2 separate regions of the Homo sapiens genome follow, and region 1 is linked to region 2. Evidence: promoter capture Hi-C in 16 types of primary human blood cells and fetal thymus (Javierre and others, 2016). All regions are on one chromosome and are shown on one strand. The core of a region is centred on a gene start or on the middle of the fragment in contact, and the rest is flanking DNA. Distances in the headings are between cores, read along the strand shown. Region 1 has its middle 4.1 kb from the start of KIAA1217. Region 2 holds the start of C10orf67 (chromosome 10 open reading frame 67).

Evidence for each region. Contacts are between HindIII fragments. The CHiCAGO score rates a contact against its expected background, and 5 or more counts as called.
Region 1: a contact is called between a fragment that was not itself captured here and the fragment with the promoter of C10orf67 in region 2, in 1 of 17 cell types (neutrophils). The highest score is 7.0, in neutrophils.

What each region holds. Positions count from the first base shown.
Region 1 is chr10:24,201,337-24,208,691 of GRCh38, reverse strand. It overlaps a transcript of KIAA1217 not described here. Among named protein-coding and RNA genes, the nearest start is that of KIAA1217, 4.1 kb to the left of the region's middle. RefSeq lists an enhancer at 5,685-6,450. The HindIII fragment of the contact is 5,088 bases long and covers 2,068-7,155 here.
Region 2 is chr10:23,339,250-23,346,664 of GRCh38, reverse strand. C10orf67 (chromosome 10 open reading frame 67) reads left to right here and starts at 1,868. Exons shown (of 16, transcript NM_001371909.1): 1 at 1,868-2,096. The coding sequence starts at 1,891. C10orf67-AS1 (C10orf67 antisense RNA 1) reads right to left here and starts at 2,708. Exons shown (of 2, transcript NR_155752.1): 1 at 2,575-2,708; 2 at 1,504-2,241. RefSeq lists a silencer at 451-745. The HindIII fragment of the contact is 9,174 bases long and covers 1-5,349 here.

The DNA of each region.
Region 1 (7,355 bases), core at 3,362-5,861, 860 kb before region 2:
TCCCAAATCGGGTGATCCACATATTAAAAAACAGCAACCTGTTGAACCTCCCAAATTTCAGTGAACTCCCTTAAAAAAAAATCCCAAACAATTTGAAAGAAAGAGTATATGCTGAGTGTTGTAAGTAAGCACTTTCCGGCACTAACTTTTTAGGGCCCGATTAACATCTATGAAGAGGTATAGCGTCATTTGCACACAGTCGATTTCAATCACTTAATCTGGACTTTTTAAAAAAAAGTTTCTACGTACTTGCTCACTTTCTCAGACTCCTCCCTCCCCCAACACACTTACACACACACACACACACACACACACACCCAGCCCTTAATCACAAATCTGAAAGGTAAACTAGTAAAGTCAATCTTCTGAAGCTCTCCCAGTTAACGACTCCAAAAATCTGAAAGACAGTGAAAATGCATTTCTTTGGACAGGCAGAGTTACAACCAACATACTTCTCCTTTTAAACCACCTACAAATATTTATTTTGTTCTTTACCCAGTCCTTGAAAAACTGGCAGAGTTCCCAGAGAGTGAAAATAGGAGGCATGATGTCCGAAAAAAAAAAAAAAAAGAGGATGGGAAAATAATTTAGGCAACATTAGCTCTGCGATGTCAGATATCTCAGAGTAACACAGTAGCTAGGAGGAAGAGCGCGATTTTGTAACCTGTAGTAGCCCCGTCACAGGAGGGGTAAAAAAGGACAATGGTTAGTCTGGTGACCATACTTTGCCCCAGTTTACAGGGCATTCCAGCAAGGTTTGAGATTGATTTAGATCAAGAATGTGTGCTGAACAATGGCCAGCCTATGTTCCAGATTGTGACCTCGAGTGACCTGTGTGTTTTGGCAGTGGGGGTGACGTATTTTGGCCATTTAAGACATAAGGATGTGGAAGCACCTAACAGACAAAGGATGTAGGCCAAAAGGAAAGGAGACATACCAGGAAGTGAGTTACACTCACGTCAGGAGGGGAAGAAGAGAGCCCCTCAATTCTTAACGGGATTTTTCTTGAAATCCAAGAAGACGCGGTGAATCTTTCAAAAAATTAAAGCAGTGCCTCGGCAGCCTGAATAGAGGCAGTGGGATTTGCAGGGCAGATAACTTAAGGTCTCTATGACTTTGCAACAGAATTACCTGGCAATCTTGCTTTAAGGAGGAACTAATCTTACACAGTTTCTGTCCTGGTGGCCCCTGGGCAAAGGCCAGATGAATCTAGTTTTAACCTTATTATTTCCTTAGGTGCAAAATGTTCATGAAGGAGGGCCCTGCTGTGTTCAGCCTTTCAGGTCCAGATCATCCTGATTCTTGTATACTGTTGTGTATTTGTCTTTAAAGTATTAATGCTAGGAAGAGTGGGGAGGAGGGTGGGAGAAAAGTATGTGTGTGTGTGTGTGTGTGTGTGTGTGTGTGTGAGAGAGAGAGAGAGAAACACTGTAGCAGGAGATGCAGCAGCCCAAATCAGATGTCCCGCAGCCTTTGGTTGTGACCCCAATCCCCTTGCTCTGGTGTCCAGAGAGCCCGTGCTTAACAGCTCCTACCTGTCATTTGGTGTAGCACAAAGGCAAAAACCCCAGGATGAAGGAGGCAGCAGAGGGCTGCCACAGCCGTTGGCAGCCACAAACAGCACCCTGCCCCAGGGCCCTCCTGGCTAGCTCAACCCAGGCAGAAAAGATCCATTGGCAGATGCTGATTAAGATTTCCTGGGGGCTGTTTGGAAGGTGTCAGAGCAGTCTTTCAGGCCTCTGTTGACCCCTAGATGGACAAAAATAGGGAAATGTCTCCCACCAGGTCTGAACTACCATTTTCCAGGCAGCCCAAGGAACCCCCTTGGTCAGCCGACCTTGCTTTCCAGCTGCTAGGACCCTCCCCTCCCCCATACGGGCCAAGCCCACTGCCCTCTCTGCTGATATTCCAGGAAACAAAACTCTGTGATATGCACAACAGAAAAAGGCATTGGGGGAAGAGAATTAACATGAATCATTAAGGATCATGAAACCTAGACATGTATTTATGGTAAAATAATGTTCTTTTGAATGATCAAACTTTCTGACCATTCTATAGGGAAAAGCTTCTATTGGATTACTTACTGGCCTTTTGTTCCTCCTTAAGAAGAGGAACTGAAAACAATTTGAGAAGGCACTCTATTTGCCCTTGCACCGACTATTCCATATCTTTCTCCAAAGCACAGAGACCTTCCTAACAATTTAGCACTGATTGTCAGTGTCTCTGGAAAACAGTAGCTGTATTCTGCAATCTATATAAACCTGGTAACTCCGATCTTCATGAAAATACTCTTATTGTCACTGCTGTTACTGTGGAGATGTTCTTCTTTCTGGAAGAAACACTATTTGAACTAGAAGTAGGTGTATTTCTTTCTGGTTTAATTTAATTTCTGGGCTTAAAAATTGCTATTACATTGCAATCTGCCTACTGCTATACTTTGAAATTTGCTGTGAAAGGCATAAGGAAAGCGGGAAGAACTTGAAATCTGATTTTCCTCCAGTCATATAAAGAACTAGAATAATAATAATACCAGGAGGCTAAGTTTTCAACTCCGTTTCTGTTAACAGGGAAAGGTGCAAGACTATTTCTTGGTTAGTGGTTCCATATGTTGCAATTCATGACTCAAAATGAGCTACCACATAAAACAAATGTCATTTAAAAGGAAAGACAAGTGACGAGATAAAAGAGTGCTGTAAAGACAAATGGTGATTTTGCAGTCATAGCTAACCCGTTACAGAACTGGACCATTATTGGTGTTGATAACGCAACGTAAATGGCATTCACCATAAAGAGAATTAATCACAAAAATCGTAAACAATTGCATATGATTTCTCAGCAGGCCAATTATAGGGTTGTGGAAAGCATGTCAACTTCCTTCATGTAAATTTTTCCTTTTTTCCTTCTTTCCTTTTTTTTTTTGAGACAGCATCTTGCTCTGTCACCCAGGCTGGAGTGCAGTGGCATGATCTCGGCTCACTGCAACCTCCACCTTCTGGGTTCAGGTGATTCTCCTGCCTCAGCCTCCCAAGTAGCTGGGACTACAGGCACATGCCACCACGCCCAGCTAACTTTTTGTATTTTTAGTAGAGATGGGGTTTCACCGTGTTAGTCAGAATGGTCTCGATCTCCTGACTTTGTGATCTGCCTGCCTCGGGCTCCCAAAGTGCTGGGACTACAAGCATGAGCCACCGCGCCCGGCATTTTTTCCTTTTTTTTGAGACGGAGTTTTGCTCTTGTCGCCCAGGCTGGAGTGCAATGGCGCGATCTCGGCTCACTGCAACCTCTGCCTCGAGGGTTCAAGCAATTGTCCCGCTTCAGCATCCTGAGTAGCTGGGATTACAGGCATGTGCCACCACGCCTGGCTTTTTTTTTTTTTTTTTTTTTTTTTTGTATTTTTAGTAGAGACGGGGTTTCACCACATTGGCCAGGCTGGTCTCGAACTCCTGACCGCAGGTAATTCGCCCACCTTGGCTTCCCAAAGTAATCACGCTGGGATTACAGGCGTGAGCCACTGTGCCTGGCCTATGTAAGTTTTTCAACAGAGAAATCATTGCAAGAACCAAGAGTAAGTGGAATTGCCCTGATACATATTTAATATTTTTTCACTTTAAATCCTATTAAGAACCAGATAGTTGAAAATGACTTGACATCAGGACACAAAAGAAATAATTAATGCTTGCTGAAGTCCTTAAAATGTACTTTTCAAAGGCATTCATAACTGTGAGAGTCAATTAAAACAAAGTGAAAAACAAAGAAGTCAACAAAAGTGTTTCAACCAGAGGCCTCGTGTTTGATGTGTTCCACATTAACTGTTTCTAAAAGACAGGCTGCTATGGTATGAGGCCCTGTAAGTCAGAAATAAAGGATTTTTAACAACTGGGATAACATTTGCTTAAATGGATGATCTGGCGCATGTGAAATGTGGGCTCTCCAATCCTAGTTTTGACAGCAATGTGTCAGGTGGTTAGGGTGACCTTATACTTAGTATAAACCAGCATTTGTGAGAGGGAAAGTAGACACTATTAATAATTACAACTGGACAATAAGACACCACGACTGTCCCTGGCAAACCAGCACAGATGGCCACCTATGTGTGATCCCAAGATAAGCCCTCTGGGCGCCTTAGGTTTCCAAATGTGAGGGGAACATAATGATACTGTTTGAGTTTCCCAACAAAGACCCTATAAAAGAATCTGAAACAATAATTAAAAAATAATTAATCTTAAACAATAATTAGAGCAAAGGTGTGAGCCTCACACGGACCGTATTACAAGCCCCACTAACAAACAATTTCGCAGATTCCATAGTATAATACATTTCTATATGACTCATAGATCAAAACAGAATTTTCCCTTCTGCGTTAAGAGCAACAATTTCACCAGGTAACCTCCAGCATTCTCTCCAGAGGGTAACCAATCTTCCCTTACTTAAAGTCCTTAAAATTCCAGTGGCTCCAAGGAGATCCTGCCAGACAATAAGTGAGGTGCCCAGGAGCCCCTCGCCACCCACCAACACTCAAATCTCCCTATGAAATGTCTTGGAACTCTCCTGCTACTCCACACAAATTCCTCATGTGGTCATATGATGTGAAACTACACATAGATCCAATGTGTTAATACTTTAAGCATATTTGCTTTCTTTTTAAGAGAACCCATTGATGTTGGTTTTTATTATGGTTTCTTTTATCTATTTTAAGTTGGAAGATAGATGCTGGGCAGCAAAGACCCCGTGTGCACAGCACTGTGGCCAGAGCTGGCATCTGTGCAGCATACCGTCTTGAAAGCCCCGCTCAGCTCTGCCCTCTGGTCACTGCAGACAAAGTCTGGATTCCAGGTGGCAACTTATAAGTGAAAAGTGTAACATGTATCTGCTCACCCCTTTTATCCCAGAGGGAGCAAAACCATGGCATATTTCCCAGAGTTCCTGAAGGGCCAGGGTGGAATCCACGAGAATATGAGAGCTTCTACAGATACAAGCACCTGGGTTGCTACCTTGCTTTACCCACAGTGCCTCATTATCAACCCTTTCAATAGAGTATTTGGGGGAAAGAGACTCTCCTGGCTTATTTTCTGCCCTTGAGCTTCTCCTCTGCCATTTCTCAAAGCTGCAGTGACCTGTGGAGGTGGGGGTTGGGGGGTAGGGGGAGCAAGAAGGAAGGGGAACCAATCAAGTTGCCAAAACTAGGATCATGGAGTACACTTCTCCCTGTTTCCCCCACCAACATCCCCCAACTTTGCTGCTGAACAAACTGACTCCTGGAGCATTCTCGAACGTGTGGCTCTCATCTCTCCCATCTTTCTCGTCTCCAGGGTCCTGTTCAGCCTTTGCTCTGTTATACTTGATGAATACCTTAGGATCTTTTATCCTCTTTTTTCACTACTGAAGTCCAAGGCAATTGTCCAAGGCGACCCCTCAATCATCAATATTATTTTTATTATTTTGCTAGATGGAAATGAAGAATAAAAGGGGAGGTATCTCTCTTCTTCTTCTTTCTTTTTTTTTTTTTTGACAAGTTTTTACTCCACCACCCAGGCTAGATTGCAGTGGTATGATCACAGCTCACTGCTTCAACTTCTTGGGCTCAATCAATCCTCTACCCTCAGCCTCCCAAGTAGCTGGGACTACAGGCACACTCCACCATGCCTGGCTAATTTTATATTTTTTTGTAGACATTAGGTCTCACTATGTTGCTCAGGCTGGTCTTGAACTCCTGGGCTCAAACAATCCTCCAGCCCTGGCCTCACAAAGTGTTGAGATTACTGTCATGAGCCACTGCCCCTGGCCCGGTATACCTATTTTCTAAAATTCCTCTTCTTTCAACTATAGAATTGGGTCTGGTATTATTTGGGGGGCATTGCTGTAAGAGCCCTAAGGCATCATGCAGTTCGGCCATAGATATTTATCAAAGTCTCCCTGCAGCTGGGCGCCTGCTCTAGTCACTGAGACCTCTAGTCTGTAAGCTAAGACTGTGATGCCAGGGACCTCCCTGGGGGGCAGGGCTTCCAGGAGGATGAGGCCAAAGATGGAAACCACCCTCAGAGCAGAGGAGACGTGGAGCTGCTAGGATAGGGGAAAGCGCCTGTGAGGGGAGCTTGGGAGCAAGGGTGCAACCAGAGCACAGCCTTTGGGCAACGGTGCTCATGAAGGCTTGGGGGCCGTGGTGCAGCCCAGGGTGGAGGGTGGAGGCTCCGAGAACAGGGCCCTGCAGGTCACCCTGATGCAGGAGAAGGAGAAGCCTGTGACTGGTGTCTTGGAGTCCTGGCAGGGATTGCCTGTGCCCAGGGAGTTTCCTGACCGCTCTCTCCCCTGAGCTTTGCTCTCCTCTCCCCCTACCTTTGGAATTCAGAGCTCCTCACCTTCCCTCCCAGGGCCAGCGAAACAAGTGAATTGCCCTGATCACTTTGATCACCTCTACTGGCTTCTCTGCCAAATAAACACTGAAATTGACTTTGTTTCAACAACGCAGCTAGTTTTATTTTGTTTTTGTTCCACTTTTTCATCAGTTCTCAGCCTCCGGTTGAGTGATGGCCATAGGCTTTAAGAGAAACAGAGACACAGATGTTACAGAATGAAAGGCGCAGTGCAAATACATTCACCTTTCCATGTCACCCCCGGGAGGCTGACAGTCCTGCAGCCACACCTGGAGCTGAGGGGGTCACCCAGCACCCGGGGCTGGGCCGCCTGCCTGCGTGCAGCCTGCACTCCCTCGGGGGTCTCAGAACACCAGGAAGAATTGGGAATGGGGTGCTGGATAGGAGGATCAGGGGTGATCAGGAGGTTGGGGGCGCTCGAGAGGGGTGTCCAGAGACTCAAAGGGCTCACTGTAGCCCCTGCTTTGCCCTGAGCCATGCCTCCAACTTCTTCAAGTGCCTCACCCTCGAGTTTATAGAATTCTTGAAAGCCAGTCACGTGCTTCAGAAGTTAAGTATTTTTACAGTGATTTTATTTTTCTCTCCCCACCTCAGTCCACAGAATTGAAGGTGGGGCGGAAGCAGAGGCGGGGTAGGGCAGGGTGGGGACTTCTGTTCCTTGCAGATGGAAAAACAGTTTTAATACAGAAGGACTAATTTCTGGAGCCAAGTGGGTAGAGGGGGTGCTGGCATGCAGGAGGTAGAGGAAGCCCTCCAGGATTTACAAAGTATTGATGGCTAAGCTTCTCTGCCCTAAGCCGAAGTGCATTTTGTGTTTCTCCCCAGGGCTGCTAGAGCTTAACATTCTTCATTTCCCAGATGACATCGTTTTGCTTTGTAAACACTCCCTTTTGCAAAATTTACAATCTCTGAACTGGACAATATTGAGTGGGATAAAATATTTAATGACTGGTTGGGCCAGGGTTTCCATAACACTATATTAGG
Region 2 (7,415 bases), core at 619-3,118:
TGTTTTCCCTAGTAGTGGTTTAGGAAGAAGGAATAGAGTCCTTCAAAGGCCTAGTTGGTATTTCTCTTGCAGTTGCCTCATGCATGTGCTGCGTGTTTTTCTGCTTTATAGATTACCCCAACTTTGAGAAACATTCATTATCCAGTTTTTACTTGTGAGAAAATAGAGGCTCTGAAATGTTAACTTACTTGCCCAAAATTCTAAATCGAGTAAGTTTCAAAGCCTGTATATATTTAATATTTACTGCAGAGTTCATGAGCTTTCCACTAAAGCCATCAATGAATTTAGCATGTGATAAAAGAGGCCTGGATTTAATATGACAAATGTTTTGACCACATCAACGCCAGTTACTACAGGTGAGAATCTGATCTGAAATAAACAATTTTATAAGCCGGAACACCTGTGAGATAAAATACAGGTAACTGACAAGAAGAGAAGTATTATGTAGTTAACGGTTTCAAAAACAATCATCATCATAGCGTGGTCTCTTAGACACTGAAATCTGAAACTCCTTGATATGCTATAGCAAGGTTTCAAACAAAGATGTTCTGTTCAATGCATGTTTTTGTGGGATGGCGTAACTATGCAGACTATATCAGTCAACAAATGCTGTACAGAGCTGACCAATGACTCATGAAATCTTCTGTGCGATCTCTCTCCTCAGTTTCAAACGATTCATTTATAATTGCACTAGGAAAATAGCCAACAGCTTGTCACATTCTTTACACTGTCTTGGCCCAGCTCTAAACAGATAGGTTTTGAAATTTTAACTTAAAATTTTAATCTTTATTTTAAAACATGTATATACATTGTGGTAAAATATCACTTAGGAAAAAGAAAAGTTATTGTAGATATATAAATTTCTTTCTTTTAAAATACCTTTTGATTATATAATAAAAATTCCCCAAATAAAGTCTGAAGTTAGAGTTTGTAATTAAAAACCTCCAAAGAGTAAAAGTAACTCTTTTTCTCTTCTCTCTTCATCTCCCCCCCAAAAAATAAGCCTTCACAGAAGATGATTTTGGCATTGGTTATGATGTTTTATTGGCATTTGGGGCTTTTAATCTTTGTCTTTAAACATAATAGTAGTGATAATGCTACAGTGCTTTTCTTTTCCTGTTTTGAGCTTCTAAATCCAGCTAAGTTATTTTCACTTACTGTTACAAGACAGAGAAGAGGCCGGGCTCTGTGGCTCACGCCTGTTATCTAGCACTTTGGGAGGCCGAGGGGGGCAGATTGCCTGAGCTCAGGAGTTAGACTAGCCTGCACAACGCGGTGAAACCCCGTCTCTACTAAAAATACAAAAAATTAGCCTGGCTTGGTGCTGTGTGCCTGTAGTCCCAGCTGCTCGGGAGGCTGAAGCAGGAGAATTGCTTGAACCCGGGAGGCGGAGGTTGCAGTGAGCCCAGATCGCGCCACTGCACCCCAGCCTGGGCGACAGAGCGAGACTCCGGCTCCAAAAAATAATAATAATAATAATAAGAGAGAGGAGAAAAAACTTATTTTTCTGTAGATAATATATTGAAATGCAGATGTAGTATAGACAGTTCTAAACCAGACAATGACATTTTAAAAATAAATTTAGCCAGTCGTTTACAGAAAAACAATGACATACTGATATTAGAATAGGTGTCTCCTATTAGTTGACAATGAGTGATACATAATTTAAAACTAAGGATGACAACAGTTTCACTATTAACTCTTATTATTGTAGAAACCTGGTAAAATTGAATTCCACACTAGATGGTATAGTTTAAGACTTAACGCCTCACATTCTGACCTCATTAAATAGAAATCTGTTTAATCTCTGCAAGGAAATATTTTGTCCAGGAACGCCTACGTTTGTGGCAGGTGGAGACAGCTTATTAGGCAGCCTGCTCTCCTCTTATGATGGCCTTGGTCCGGGATCGCAGGGCTCATTATGTCATGAGCATAGTTATTAGATGGGTTCACTGCTTTTCCTCCTCCTTGAGGGGGACCTTTGGCACACGCTGGGAGGCCATGAAAGCCAAGGCCACCGAGCTGCGGGTCTGCTGCGCGCGTAGGAAGCGAGAAGCTCGGGAATTCAAGCCCCCGCAAATGCGCGGGTCCACGAGGTAGGCTGAGCTCCGCGCCTGGGTAGAGGAGGAAGCGAGCAGGGTCCAGGGGCACGGCGGGAGGCTGAAGGGTTATTTACGGGGGTGCAGCTTTCCTCTGGGGTATCGCAGCAGCCTCCAGGCTGTGGGAGTCTTGTGGGGAAGCCTTGAGGCAGGCGGGACAGTGAAAGCGCAGCGGGGTGGCTTGGGAGCCCGCCCCGCCTCCTCCTCCCCCTCTCCACTCCCCTCCTCCCGCGCGTGCTCCCTCCCCATCCTCCTTTCCATCTCTTCCCCCTTCCCCCACTCCTTCCCCCTCTTCCTTCCCTCCACACCTCCTCTACTTCCTTTCCCTCTCCCCTTCCCCCCCATCCCCAACCTTCTCCCTATCCCCCTCCTCCCCATCTCCTTCCCCCTTCCCCTCCCCACCCCGTTCCCCACCCCCCTCCACTCGCGGCCCTCCCCGGCCCCCGCCCACGGATTCCCGCGCTTCGCCGGTTACCTGGGAGTCGCCATGGCAACGGACGCCGGGTTCCCGACTCCGACTCAGGAGAGCGAGCGGCTCCGCGGGAGGCGCACGTCCGGGGCTGCAATGGCGAACTGGGGCGACTCGCCTGAGACAGAGGAGGGCCGGAAGATCATGGAGGGCCTCGAGGCCTCTATTGAACAATTCCAGTTCAACCCCAGGTGACCAGCGGGAGAGGCAGTCCCCGCCGGCCCGCCCCGGAGCCCTCGCGCCCCGGCCCTCGCTCAACGCCTTTCCAGGCCCCTTGCTCCAGCCGCTGGGCTTCAGTTTTTTGTTTGTTTTTCGAGGGGATCACTGTCCGAAAAGAGCTGCAGTTTTCACTTCTTCAAGTGTATAGCTGGACACTAAGAGCACGGACTCTGGAGCCAGACTGCCCGGATTCCAGAATCTTGGCGACCCTCTCACAGGGGCCGTGAGTTAGGCGACTGACTGCTCTGTGCCTCAGTTTTCTCAGCGGGAAATAATCGTTCATGAATGATGAAGAGTAGTGCCTGCTTCATAGATCATAGTGAATATTAAATGAGCTAATCTAGGACACAGTACCCGTCTTAGTCCCCTCGGGCTGCTGTAACAAAACAACATAGGCTGGGTGGCTTATAAGCAACAGGAATTTGTTTCTCCCAGTTCTGGAGGCTGGGAAGCCCACTGGCAGATTCCAGGTCTGATGAGGGTCCCTTCTGCACAGACAGTACCTCCTGGCTGTGTCTCCACATGGTGCAACGGGCAAGGGAGTTTTCCCCCACGTCCCCCACACCCGCTCCCACCCTGCTTTTAGAAGGGCACTAATCCCATTTATAGGGCTCCACTTTCATGACCTAGTCACCTCCAAAGTCCACACCTGCTAATATCGTCATCTTGGGGGTTAGGATTTCAACATGAATTTTCAGGAGACACACTCAGACCATAGCAGAATCATAGAAGTGTTTGCCGATGTCATTATTTGCTATTCCTTGATCCTTGTTTAAAACCCGTCCCTTTCATAATCCTTTGCCCCCTGTGTTCTAGCTTTGTTGTTTATTTGGATAATGTAGAGCTGATGTTTCTGGGAAAATGCAAATTTCTTTCTAAAAACCTTTTCAAATCAGTAGGTAGCCAGAATTAGCTTAGCTGCTATGGGAGAACTTACCGTTGTATAAGGCAGGGGCCTCATGGTGCCAGGTGGGCTGGCTTAGGGGCAAGCCCCTCACACAGACACAGCTCCAGGGTGAGAAGAAGGGACCACAGGTGTCCTAGCCCAGCAGTGGGACTGACCCAGTGAGGCAATGCTCCTGGGCTGGGCTTCCCCAGCTTCACTGTATTCAATGGGTACGTTTGTTAAAATGGGTCAGGGTGCACGGGACCTGGTCTAGTGGTGGTTGTGAATAGCATTTATTAGAGGCAGCACGTGATAAACACCAGAGGCACACAGCGTCTACCCTGTTCTAGTGTTTGCTGATAGGAATGGTGTCCTGCCCTGGACTCCTTGGCATTCCATGGTGGGGTAGCTCCCAAAAAAAAATGCACTTGCCAGGCTCAAGAGCAGACCGATGGTGCCGGGTGCTCTTTGGCTGAACAAAAGAACCACTGATGCCCATATTCCTTCCTCTTCACCCAAAGTACTAGGGCGACTGAGCTGGTGCCTGGGTGTGAATGAGAGAGGCTCAGGTGCTGAACGTGGTCCACAAAGCAGACGAAAGCCCGGCCTTTGTGGAGTTTGCATCCTAGTCAGGAATTGATGATGAACTAGATAAACAAGTAAACTATGTAATAAGTTAGATAGTGGTTAGTGATAAGGAAGAAACCGAACATGGGGAGGGAGAAGAGGAAAGTGAGTAAGTGTGTGAGAGTGTGTGTGTGTGTGTGTGTGTGGCAAGTGGGGAGGGAGCTGTGATTTAATTTTTGTTTTGTTTTGTTTTGTTTTTTAGAGTCAGGGTCTCACTCTGTCACCCAGGCTGGAGTGTAGTGGCACAATCATGGCTCAGTGCAGCCTTGAACTCCTGGAGTCAAGCGATCCCTCCACCTCAGCCTCCTGAGTAGCTGAGACGACAAGCACACCCCAGCCTGCCTGGCTAATTTATTTTTAATACAGGGTCTTGCTGTGTTGCCCAGGCTGGTCTCAAACTCCTGGGCTCAAGCAGTCCTCCAGCCTCGGCCTCCCAAAGTACTGGGATTACAGGCATGAGCCACCATACCCGGCCTGGACTGCAGATTTTAGAAATGGTGATCAGGGAAGGCTTCACTGAGAAAATGACACTGGGGTGAAGACTTGCAGGCTTGAGGGGGGAGCCCTAAGGATCTATCAGGCTAGCAAGTGTTCCAGGCAGAGAGAACACTGGGTAGAAAGATGGTGCCTGGATGTCCTAGGAGCAGCAAGGAGGCCAGTGTGGCTGGAGCAGAGAGGGAGAATAGTGGAGGTGAAGTCAGAGGGAAGGGGGACGGTGCCTGTGGCGAGGGACTTTAGACTACCTTAAGGACTTCAGCTTTTACTTTGAGATGGGAAGCCATGAGGGGATTGGAAAAGAGGAGTGACATGATTTGATTTATCCTTCAATGGGATTACTCTGACGGCTGTTTAGATAATAGACTATAGTGAGGACGAGGGCAGAAACAAGGAAACAGGAGACTATTACAATATTCCTCATGGAAGATGACCATGGGGTAGCAGTGGTTGGAGGTCCGGAGAGACTGTGATGAACAGGTAGAATGGAATTGCCAGTAACCCGGATGGGGAGGATAATGAGATGAACAGGTCTGAAGGGAATATCATAAGCTTACTTCTGGTCATTATATGTCAGCAGTGACTATTAGACATCCATTTAGGCTGTTAAGTAGGTAGTTGATTAGATGAGTCTGAAGTTAAGAAGAGAGGTTCAGCTCGGCTGTATCAGTTTGGAAATAATTAGCACAAAGATGGTGTCTTAAGCTGAGAGCCTTGGTGACATCAGCCAGGAAGTGAGTGTAGTTAGAGAAGTTTATGAGCCATGGGGCACATCAAAGTTCTGTGTTCTTTGAAGAGGAGTAAAAGGAAGCAATATTCTTATTTAGCCCTGAGAAATATGCCACAGTGAAAGTTTAACACACCTAATGTTGTCTTCATTGACTGATTTATTAATAAGCATTTGTAGGATGGACAATTCTAGGATTCAGTGAGAAGAGTCATTGCATTTTATTAATACATATTCATAGGTCTGTTTTCCAAAATAAATTAGGACGTTAATTTTGTATGTAATTTATTTTAAAAAACATAATTATCTTCCCCAAATTCTGTTTTATGCATAACCACCAACTTATTATTCAGAAATAGAATTGCTGAGACTATAAATAAAGACTGTGTAGGAACCACTTAGCTAATTTGTTGTGATGTGGGTTTCCATTCTAGGTAGCAGGGTTGTTAGCTAAAATTAGAGACATTTGGAATTTGAAGGGACACTGAAGAATAAATCTTCCTCATTCAGTTAGATTCTGAATGAGCTGGAACTTTTTGAGTCAGTCACATAAAGAGTTAGGACTGGTGAAATCGGAGAGTCATGGGCTTATCCTCATCAGGGAGTTAGAAGAAGAATCTGCCATTTCCGGCTGCCCCTCTGTCACCCAGGCTGGAGTGCAGTGGTATGGTCACAGCTCACTGCAGCCTCTGACCTCTGAGCTCAAGGGATCCTCTCACTTCAGCCTCCTGACTAGGTGGAGCCGCCGGTGTGTGCCACCAGGCCCAGCTAATTTTTTTTTTTTTTTTTTTTTGTATTTTTGTAGAGACAGGGCTTCACCACGTTGCCCAGGCTGGTCTCAAACTCCTAAGCTCAAGCAGTCTGCCCACCTTAGCCTCCCAAAATGCTGGTGTGAGCCACCACACCCAGCCTGAACCTGATTTTAAAATATCATATTGTATTATTGTAATATTATGGTACCAGAAGGAATACCTGAAAACATAATTTCAAGTTTCTAAATCATATCCTGAAAAAAAATTGGTAAAAACTATTCACACTCCATAAACCACCCATGATAGGTCTTTTGCTTAAAATGGGAAGGAACAGAAGAACATACATGTTCATGCTTAATGAAAAATGTGGCTGAATAGTAAAAAGGAGCCGCTTAGCACTGGGTAGGGTAAAGGATTGCATTTCTAGACTGGAAAAGTGAATCACTGGGATCTGTTAAATGTGCAGCAGTGTAGACTATACAGAAACAGAATTAGTTCCCATGGCTGTTTATATTTACTATATTGATGTAGCACTCAGGGTCCAGACAGGAGGCAGAAACCTCACTGCTAATTTCAACAGGGACTATTTCCTGTTCTCTGTTAAATAGTAAGAAGGATTTTTAACTAGTGAAAGGCAGTAAGGTGGTAAAAGAAGACTCTAGACAATACACTGATAGCAAACACAAAAAGCAGCTATGACCTCCAGGTCTGAGGAAGAGGAAACAGGGCAGAAACTAAGGAGTTAGAAGACCCGCCCTCAAAGGCTGAGATTAGGAATGATACCTCTTTGGAGAAGACATGGTGGGAGAGAAACTTGCCAGAGGGTGTGACAACTGCTGGTCTGCAGGGATGGCTTGCCCAGTGGCTGCGAAACTTGCTGAAAGGTACAGACAGGTCAAAGTTCCTTACCTAGCTGCGAGATCCAAATGTTCGTTCCTGGAAGTCCTGACTTTTAAAAGTTCTGCCTTTTTTTTTTTTTTTTTTTTTTGCTGCCTTTTTTCCATTAATCTTTATTACTGGGCACGGAAACACTAAGAGGCACCCCAAAGAATCCTCTGGGTTCCAGACAGAGTTCTCCTTGACTCCGTTGTTCACCAGCAACCCAATTGCCCCTTGGTATTCAGAATCAATCCACTTCAGC